2 separate regions of the Homo sapiens genome follow, and region 2 is linked to region 1. The links are contacts of gene promoters, found by promoter capture Hi-C in blood cells and fetal thymus (Javierre and others, 2016). All regions are on one chromosome and are shown on one strand. Each heading gives the region's core, a stretch centred on a gene start or on the middle of the fragment in contact. The rest is flanking DNA. Distances are from core to core; before and after follow the strand shown. Region 1 holds the start of H1-2 (H1.2 linker histone, cluster member). Region 2 holds the start of BTN3A2 (butyrophilin subfamily 3 member A2).

Region 1 (4,582 bases), core at 1,335-3,834:
AGCACTCCAGCCTGGGTGACAGAGGGAAACTCCGTCTCATAAATAAATAAATAAATATAAATATAAATTATATGACTGTGATCTCTCTCAAAATAGCTTACCGTTTTACTTGTGATGATGTGAGATGACAGAATGCCAGTAATGAGATAAAGTGAGGTGAATGGAGTAGGCATTGTGAAGTAGCATTAGGCTTGATAAGATACTACAGATTTAGGTATTAGTTGAACACTTGCCATTTGTCACATAATCATCTCAGCATTGAGGATAGCACACAACACAATGTTTAAAACAATACAATTCTACCTTAAGAATTGTGGGAATGACTAAAGGAACAAAATAGAAACCTGAGAAACCTAAGACAGTCCAACTGTCCATGAAATTATAGCGTATTAGCCTATGACAAAACAGCCAAAATTGATAGGAGCGTGGAGGGTGGCACGGGAGGAAGAAGGGGGAAGCAGAAATGAAAGTTCATAAATGGTCTTGGGAAAAATATGTCCATATGTTAAACCTTACACCAAAATAGAGGGTTCACCATGTTAAACCGTGTTGTAATGTAAAATTAACAACACAAAATTACTTAAACCATGGGAGAATGTTTTCTCCTTCTTCCCTGCCTCTGTCTTCCTGTCTCTCTGCTTGCCTCCCTCCCCTTTCTCTTTCTTGGGATGAATCCGTGGTCACTATCACTAACAAATCAACTCACTATATTAATCATTGTGGAGATGGTAGAATAATTGAGCAGCTTATCTCCAGAAGCCCCAGTCCCCATAATTTAGGTCTCACCAAAATGTGCCCACCAGATTTTAAAAGAAGCGAATATAAGACGCTAGGCTTTCTGTATTCAGAAGCACCATGGATGTCAAACAGAGGGAACCATTAACGAAGGCCTTTATTAGAAATGTCTCCCATTTATCCATACACTCTTCATAGTTAATAGTACAAATACTGTTTTCTGCATAGAAACATTTGGACTGCCAAACAAAATACGTTTAAAGGAACTTCGATTTTTAAATGTTGCTGTCTGTCTAAACAGGATAAGCAACCGTAGTCATGCGAGGACAAAATGGCTGGCTAAAAGTTGTGCTTTCGATACGCTCAAAATCGATACGCTCAAACCTGTCAGTTTAGCGGAAGGCTACATGTTATGTGGCACAAAAAACTCCCTAGGTCCACGATTGCCTTGGGTGGAGGAAGGGCTATTGCCGCTGTTGTGGCTGTTTTTTAAATGCATTCCTTCGTTGCCACAGGAATGAGAAATTAACAGCAGAGGAATGTAGGACAAAGGTACCTGCACGCACTCTCCTCCCAGGGCTGGATGTTGCCACTACCTCCAGGAGACATCAACTTGACTACCAACAACATGGAAAGCGTCCGAAATCCCAGACATTAATATAAAGAGAAAAGAGGCAAAACTTTTAAGTCACAGTAAAGCAAAAAACACAGAATAAGCAACGTCTTCCACCATCCAATTAAATACAGAATGAAAGTCATGTACTAGAAGAACGGACCAACCCGGGAGCAGGGCGGGACTTTTGAAAATTTTTTAGTCCAATCCGGACATCCCTTTAGACTAAGAAACTGGCTCTTGTTTTGCGGTCTTTTCTGCCGTTCACAGGCCTGGGGCGGGACTGCCATCCCAAAACCATCCGCCAGCGAGAAAAGCCTCCGGTCAGGGACCTAGAAGCCGCAATAAAGGTTTAAATGCTGTAACCTCACCACGGCCACTCTCCAACCCCGTCACCCAATTCGTCTGATACCTCAGTAACTCCCATACGACTAACCTTAAGTAACAGGGCAGAACAAGAAAAGGCAGATAGTAAAGAAATTATCCAGCTCTTTTATTGAGATCAGTGGTGGCTCTGAAAAGAGCCTTTTGGGTTTTAGAAGTAGGCGTTCGCCTATTTCTTCTTGGGCGCCGCCTTCTTAGGCTTGACAACCTTGGGCTTAGCGGCCTTGGGCTTCACAGCCTTAGCAGCACTTTTGGCAGCTTTCTTGGGCTTCGCAACCTTGGCCTTCTTTGGGCTCTTAGCCACTTTCTTGGTTACAGTGGCCGCGGCCGGCTTCTTCGCTTTCTTCGGTGTTTTCTTAGCGCTCTTCTTCGGAGTTGCGCCGCCAGCCGCCTTCTTGGGCTTCTTGGCTGCCCCAACTGGCTTCTTAGGTTTGGTTCCGCCCGCCTTTTTAACCTTGGGCTTGGCTTCCCCGGAGGCTGCCTTCTTGTTGAGTTTAAAGGAGCCAGAAGCACCGGTGCCTTTCGTTTGCACCAGAGTGCCCTTGCTCACCAGGCTCTTGAGACCAAGTTTGATACGGCTGTTGTTTTTCTCCACATCATAGCCGGCGGCAGCCAACGCTTTTTTCAGAGCAGCCAGAGAAACTCCGCTACGCTCTTTAGAGGCGGCCACAGCCTTGGTGATGAGCTCTGACACCGGGGGACCAGACGCCTTACGAGGCGTACCCCCAGCCTTTTTGGCCGCCTTCTTCTTTACAGGGGCCTTCTCCGCAGGAGGCGCGGCAGCGGGAGCGGCAGGAGCAGTCTCGGACATGTTGAGAATCAAAAACTCGGGTACAAGTGGCAAAGCGCCGATGAAGCAGCGCCTGGGCAGGGCCGCTGTATATATAGAGCGCAGGCGCGCTCTGATTGGTGCTCTGGTCGCCCGCCTGGCTGGCAGGCTCTGAGCCGCTGCGCTGCTCCCAAGTTGTGTTTGTTCCACCTCACAAAAGGGGAAAAATATTAAAATTCCCCGCACCAAATCACTTGGGTTTGGTCAGGAAAGGATCTCAGAAGCCTCGGGCTTCATGCTCTTCATTTATTTTTTCCACAAACACAAAAACAACGCGTCCAGGCGTCCCCAATTCCCCCAACTCCGAAGGAAGTCTGGGGCAGTCAGAGACCACTTTCTGTTTTTCTTATAAATTACCTGTTCGCTCCTTTGCCCCTGAAGGTTCTTTTTCCCAGGGGTGGTTGGGCACATGCTTCCCTTATTTTTGAAGAAAAAAGCGAAATGGTTTCCACCTAAATTTTCATGATAATTCTGTTTCTTCACAAGGGAAGTAACACAGGTCCTCTGTGAATTCTTCGTGCAGTCGCACAGGAACTGTGGACTGGGACAAGGATTCCACGGCCAGTCCAAAGCAATTAGGGCGGGATGGGAGGGGGTTCATGAGCCTTGCTAGGGTCCGGGGTGGTGGGGGGCTACAGACTTAAATCTTTGATTTGAAGACATTGAAACTATCAAATCCCTCTTTTCATAGATGGGGGTGGGGCATCCTTTTCACTTCTCTACAGGCGAGAAATTGGGCTCTTTTTAAAGAGCTCTGAGGTCCCCCTCTGAGTTGTGTAAGGCAGGAGGTCTGGCCCTCAAGATAGAGATCATAAAGGAACAAGGGAGAGCCCTTAAGCCTGCAAAAAAGCCAATAGATTTGGCAGTTAGAGGCACTGAGATAATATGTTTTCAAAGAAAACAAGCATTTTTTATTTATTTATTTTTGTACGCTGCAATATAGAAATGAATTTCAGCCCATGAAAATTGTAGGTTACTTTCAGTAACCATACCTTACGCAAGTTACCATATAGGACAATCTCCAGTTGGGAACTCAAATATATCTTTTGAGTTGCAAATAAAGCAACTGACTTTAATAAAACACACTCTTGACTTTTAAGATGAACAATGTATTTGAAATTTATTTTTTTAAATAGCAAAATTTAACACAGAAAGACAAGAAAAGTACCAGAACATGTAATTTATTATAAGATCTGTTGTTGATGAGCTGAAAAATCACCTCTTCTCATCCCCTCTGAAACTATTCTGTTCTAAAGTTTGCTACTTTAAGGTTCACTACTTCTTATTTTACTCTCCGACCCCAAGTAATTGCTATTTTTTTCTTGAGATTAAAGGCAAAGTAAATTGTCTGCCCATATATTTGATATAATTATAGATTCATATTTAGGGACAAAGGTAATATTACAACTCCCCAACAATTTCTGCTCAAATATATGTTTTCATGAAAATATGTGTTAAAGAGAACAGCCTTAGATTGTGGGAAAGTCAAAAGGGAACCTACAAATAAGAGTTCAATGACAAATGAAAAGTGAAACATCTTTTAGACTAAGGGTGACCCCATTGTTTTATTAAATAACATTTGTCCAACATTTGTAAACATTGTCTGCTTGTGTGCTTATGTCCTCTGGGAATTAACAGTCTAATGAGATTAGTGATGGATGAATTAGCAGTGGTGGAAAAACACTTAGACCGGCTATTCCTCAGAGTGACAGGGTATAAGAATTATACAAAATTATGGAAAGTGTATAAACAATTGAAGCACCTGCATCATACTAATATATTGTAGTAAAAGAAATAATATAAGGCTGGGCCCCGTGGCCCACGCCTGTAATCCTAGCACTTTGGGAGACTCGGGGGCGGATCACCTGAGGCCAGGAGTTTGAGATCAGCCTAGCCGACATGGTGAAACACCATCTCTACTAAAAGTACAAAAATTAGCTGGGGGTGGTGGCACTCAGGAGGCTGAGGCAAGGGAATCGCTTGAACCCGGGAAGCAGAGGTTGCAATGAGCCGAAATGACG
Region 2 (4,582 bases), core at 604-3,103, 310 kb after region 1:
TAGGGGTCTCATAGTTTGGAAACTACAAAGTTCAGAGATATGAAGAGTTGGGCTCAGAAACTCCTAATCTGAAGCTTAGCACATTGGCTGCTTCTTTGTGTCAAAGTGACTTGGACCCTCCAGGCAAAGGTGGGATGTTCATTCTTACTAATACGATCTCAAGCAGCACAGCTTCTGATAGAGTCTGAATTTAAAAATAAACAAATGAACAAATAAACAAATATTGATGGATGAATAGGGGTGAACAGCAGGATGGATTTATAATAAAGTAAGAAACTAAAATATTAATTATACAATCTACATGGTAGATATATTGGAATTTACTGAAATTCTTTCACCTTTGCTATATGTTTTAGAAGTTTTATAATAAACTGTTGGGGAGGGGGAAGGGGGAGGGAAAAATTGTGTTTTTCTGTTGATAACAGAGACCAGAAGTACCACTGGCTTAAATAAAACAAGGATTTGTTTTCCTTTCATGAAAAACAAACTTATTTGGAAATTTACCCTGAGTACTAATATATAATAAAATATTTTAAAAGAAAAAATTTTTTAAATAAATTTAGATGGTGACAGTCCAGGGCTGATCTGGCACCTCAGATATGTCATTCATGCCCCAGCCTGCTTCTGACTTCATTCTCTGCTGTCCCAGTGTGTGGCTTCCAACCTCAAGGCTGCCTCATGGTCCCAGGGTGGGCTACTGCACCTCCGGGTCCAAAGTCCATGTTCTAGGCAAGAGGAAGAAGGAAGAAGGGAGAGTGTACCCTCACACTCCCAGCTATTTTGGCCTCCCTTTGAAGGATTTCTGGGAGAAGTACAAGCCCACAACTTTCACCTACAAACCGCTGGCTCCAACTTAGTCCCTTGGCCTGCCCTATCTTCAAGGGGGAAGAGCAGGATGCAGTACCCCAGAAAATTAGGCCTTGTCACTAAGAAGAAGGGGGCATGCACGCTGCAGAAGCAACCAGCCATCTCAAGCAGATACCACACAGCCTAAATTCAAACTGTTGCAATATAATCAAATCCCATCAGCTCCAGTCACATATTAGCTCTAGGAGATTTCTGGCTTGCAGCCCAAAAAAGTGTGTTTTGAGGTCGTAAGCCACAGGGAGAACAAGATTGTCCCATAAACTCCTTACAGAGATGGTGTACAGGAAACGAGCCTTACAGAGACCACAGCCTATGGAGTGTCTAGCTTCAGAGAATATGTACTCCACTGGCAGCGTGAGAAACAAATACCCAAGAAAATACAATATAGCACAAACCAGGAGCTGAGGGTGAATGAAGATGCTCAGAAAGATCTGCAGTAAGAATTTCCTGGGAAAGGTAAAACAATGTCAAGCAGCACTGCCTCTGGAAATCAGAAAAATTATATTATTTGATACCATATCCTAAGCCTAAATGCCAGAAGTTCTTAAAGAGGTGCAGTTTGTCTCATTTTCTTTCCATTCATACCTTTATTAGGCTCTGTAAAAAAGATCCTCCTCTTCTACGTACCTATCTACATGCAAGCAAACTGCCACAGAAGCATCTTAATTAGTGCACATCTTCCTCTCTTTGCACATTAAATTTTTTTACTTTCCTACTCCATTCTGCTAATATTTCTATTACCATGTAAAAGACACGAGACAGGTGAATATAAAGAAATACTTATATACATCCACGCACAAGAATGATTCAAATAGATAAACACAGAAACACAAACACTAAGGGAGGTAGGGCTGGAGTTTTTCCTCAACGTGTACAATTCAATGTACTTTCAGTTTTCATTTCAACGTTCCTCAGTGGTTTCTGCCCAGCAACTGATGAGAAACATCACCTCTGAGCCAATCAAAAAACTAATTCTTCCAAAGAGCGACTCTTACTGTTTCTCATGGTGAGAAGACAATATTTGCTTTCTCTTTTTCCTTTCTTCCGGATGAGAGGCTAAGCCATAATAGAAAGAATGGAGAATTATTGATTGACCGTCTTTATTCTGTGGGCTCTGATTCTCCAATGGGAATACCAAGGGGTAAGTGCAGGAAATTGATTAGAGCCTGGGCTACAACGCATGGGAGGAGCGGGGCTGAATCGCTGAGAGTGGTGAGTGGGCATGCAGGGAGAGTACTCTCCCAGAGAAAGGGGTGCAGTGCCTGTGTGTGTGTGTGTGTGTGTGTGTGTGTGTGTGTGTGTGTGTACATGTGTACATGTGCACACTCGCACATGCACATATGGGCACGTGGGAAGACGGGAGAAGTACTGCAAAGTATAAGGAACTGCAGAGGTTGGGATTTAGTGGAAGGAAAGGGAGACAACATGAATGAAGAAATATTCCAACTGCATGTTCTTAACGTATTGTGGTCAGAAAAGGGCAAACAAACAAACAAACAAAAAACCCTTAAAATCTGTTCTGGCCAACTCAAGGCATCTATTCTGAGAAATTCTGAAGAAGAAGAAGAAAAAAGAGATGTGCCTCATAGATTTATATGTAAATGTGTTTATTACAGAAGTATTTATAATATAGTAAAATCTGAACCAACATACATATTCAACAGGTGGGGAATAGACAAACAATGCATGGTTCAGTCATAAAACATGTTCCATGTAACCATTAGGAATCATAATTTTAATTAAGTGAAATTCTTTATAATTTTAATAACACTGGATCCTTATATTAAACCATTTTTGGTATCTTTTAGGGATAGTACTTGGTTTTCTTTCCATTCATCATTTCCCCAAAACCTAAAGCATGATTTCCCATGGTTACAAGCTACTACATTGTATGAATATATAATTATTGGGAGTCTCTGTGAGCCTACTCTGACTCAGAAAGCCGCTCCTAAAGAAGAAAAAAGAACAAACAAACAAATAAAAAACCCGAATTATTTTTAAAACTCTTTATTTTGGATTTTTCAGTTTCTACATTTTGTTACTGTAGATTTTACTAGATTGAACAGCCTTATCCATAAATATTTGCATCAATCTCTAAATTTTTTTCTTCAACACTAACTTTTATAGTTGGAATTTTGGGGGCAAATAATACAACATTTTAAAGGCACTTGCCATGTGTACATGGCCAAATGCTTCCAGAAACATTTCCACTTCCATTAGCAAAGTATATAACTACAGAGTATTTAAGGTTTTATTCCTTTATATTTTTTTCTTTGGCAAAATTGTCTATAGTAGAAAGAATGAATAATAAATAACCTAAAAAATAAAAGTTCTCCCTCTGAGGACAGCAGAGAAATTTTTAGCTTAGCTTAATAATACCTCCTTCTCCTTAGGAGAATAAAGAGCAGTTTCGAGGAGCAGAAGATGTGGTGAAATATAATGTTTAGTCTGATGGTGGATGCAAGATCCAGGCAGGGGTGGAGCATGACCAGCTGCACAGACCTCTGTTCCCTTGCTTCCTCTACATCTCTCCCCACCTCCATCTGCAGACCTTGTTCTCAGAGGCCATTCCCAGACCCACAGCAGCTGGTATGATGGCTGCAGGCCTCATGCTCCTTTGTTTTGGGAGAAACTGTTGAGGAGTTAGTATTTACTGAGCAGCTAATATGTTCCAGTCACTATTATTCCTCATAATAATTAGTTATTAACTAATACATGAAAATTTTAAACTTAAAGCATTCCAATAATTTTAAAAGTAAAGGAAGCAAAAGGCCAAAGCGTCCTTTCACTCACTTAACCTCCAATTTTCAGTTTAGCATCCATCATTTTAGACTTTTTCAGGCATTTACATATATAGTTATGCAGAAATGTATAGCTTTGCTTTTGTTTTTCAATTGAATCATTAGTATAGTTCTGCAAGGTGCTTTTTAATCACTTAGTATATCTCCATTATCCAGGCTAGTGACATTAAATCACTCTTTTTAACTGCTGCATTGAATTTCCTCCTAGGGATGAGCCATCATTCCTCTAACCAGTCTCTTGTGAGTGGCTGGTTCAGTTGGTAACCACTTTTATACTTTAAAAATAGTGCTGCAGTGTCATTCCCACAGAGGCTTCTCTCTGCACCCATGCGAGTACTTCGCTGAAGTAACCATCAGGAAGTGGAATTGCTGGGCCAATTGTGAACATTCTAAGTCTCATACTCGATATTTTTGAGTAACTAAAGTTGAAATGGTTTTGTCCCATGACTGAGATCATCAAGCTTGTGACTTGTAGAGCCTTTACCTATTGTCTACCCTCTTTGTGTTCCTAACTCTACCATAGTGGGTCCAGCCCATTGTGGGTGCTCAGTAAATATTTGTTGAATAACTTTATGAAGGGAAGAAAGAAAAGATGAGTAAAGCCTGGTCTTATTCAAAGCTCTCCTAATCAATATCTTTGTGATTAAACGTGGTGGGTTCAGCCCCTGACTGACTTCAGAGCCTCTGCCAGGCAGTCTGCCTGGATCCCACCAGGAGCCACCAGGCCATAAGTTGACTGTAGTAATGGCCAAGAGTTTGACGCTTGAGGAGTCCATAGTGTTGGACACCCACAGAGCTGAACAAGGGTGGGACCAGGGAATCCAGTGAAGAGGGTCCTTCATGAATCAGAGGGGGATGATGGAAGCTTGGACCTGGCAAGGGAAGTGTGGGGAAGTGATAGGATTATGAATATT

What was found. Contacts are between HindIII fragments. The CHiCAGO score rates a contact against its expected background, and 5 or more counts as called.
Region 2: a contact is called between the fragment with the promoter of BTN3A2 here and the fragment with the promoter of H1-2 in region 1, in 1 of 17 cell types (neutrophils). The highest score is 10.0, in neutrophils.

Annotation. Positions count from the first base shown.
Region 1 is chr6:26,053,886-26,058,467 of GRCh38, forward strand. H1-2 (H1.2 linker histone, cluster member) reads right to left here and starts at 2,585. Exons shown (of 1, transcript NM_005319.4): 1 at 1,855-2,585. The coding sequence starts at 2,543. The coding sequence ends at 1,902. RefSeq lists enhancers at 1-445, 1,066-1,687, 2,098-2,147, 2,238-2,637 and a silencer at 1,538-1,607. The HindIII fragment of the contact is 9,556 bases long and covers 1-4,582 here.
Region 2 is chr6:26,363,345-26,367,926 of GRCh38, forward strand. It overlaps BTN3A2 (butyrophilin subfamily 3 member A2), which reads left to right and starts at 1,854. Exons shown (of 11, transcript NM_007047.5): 1 at 1,854-2,008. RefSeq lists an enhancer at 1,812-1,861. The HindIII fragment of the contact is 4,055 bases long and covers 73-4,127 here.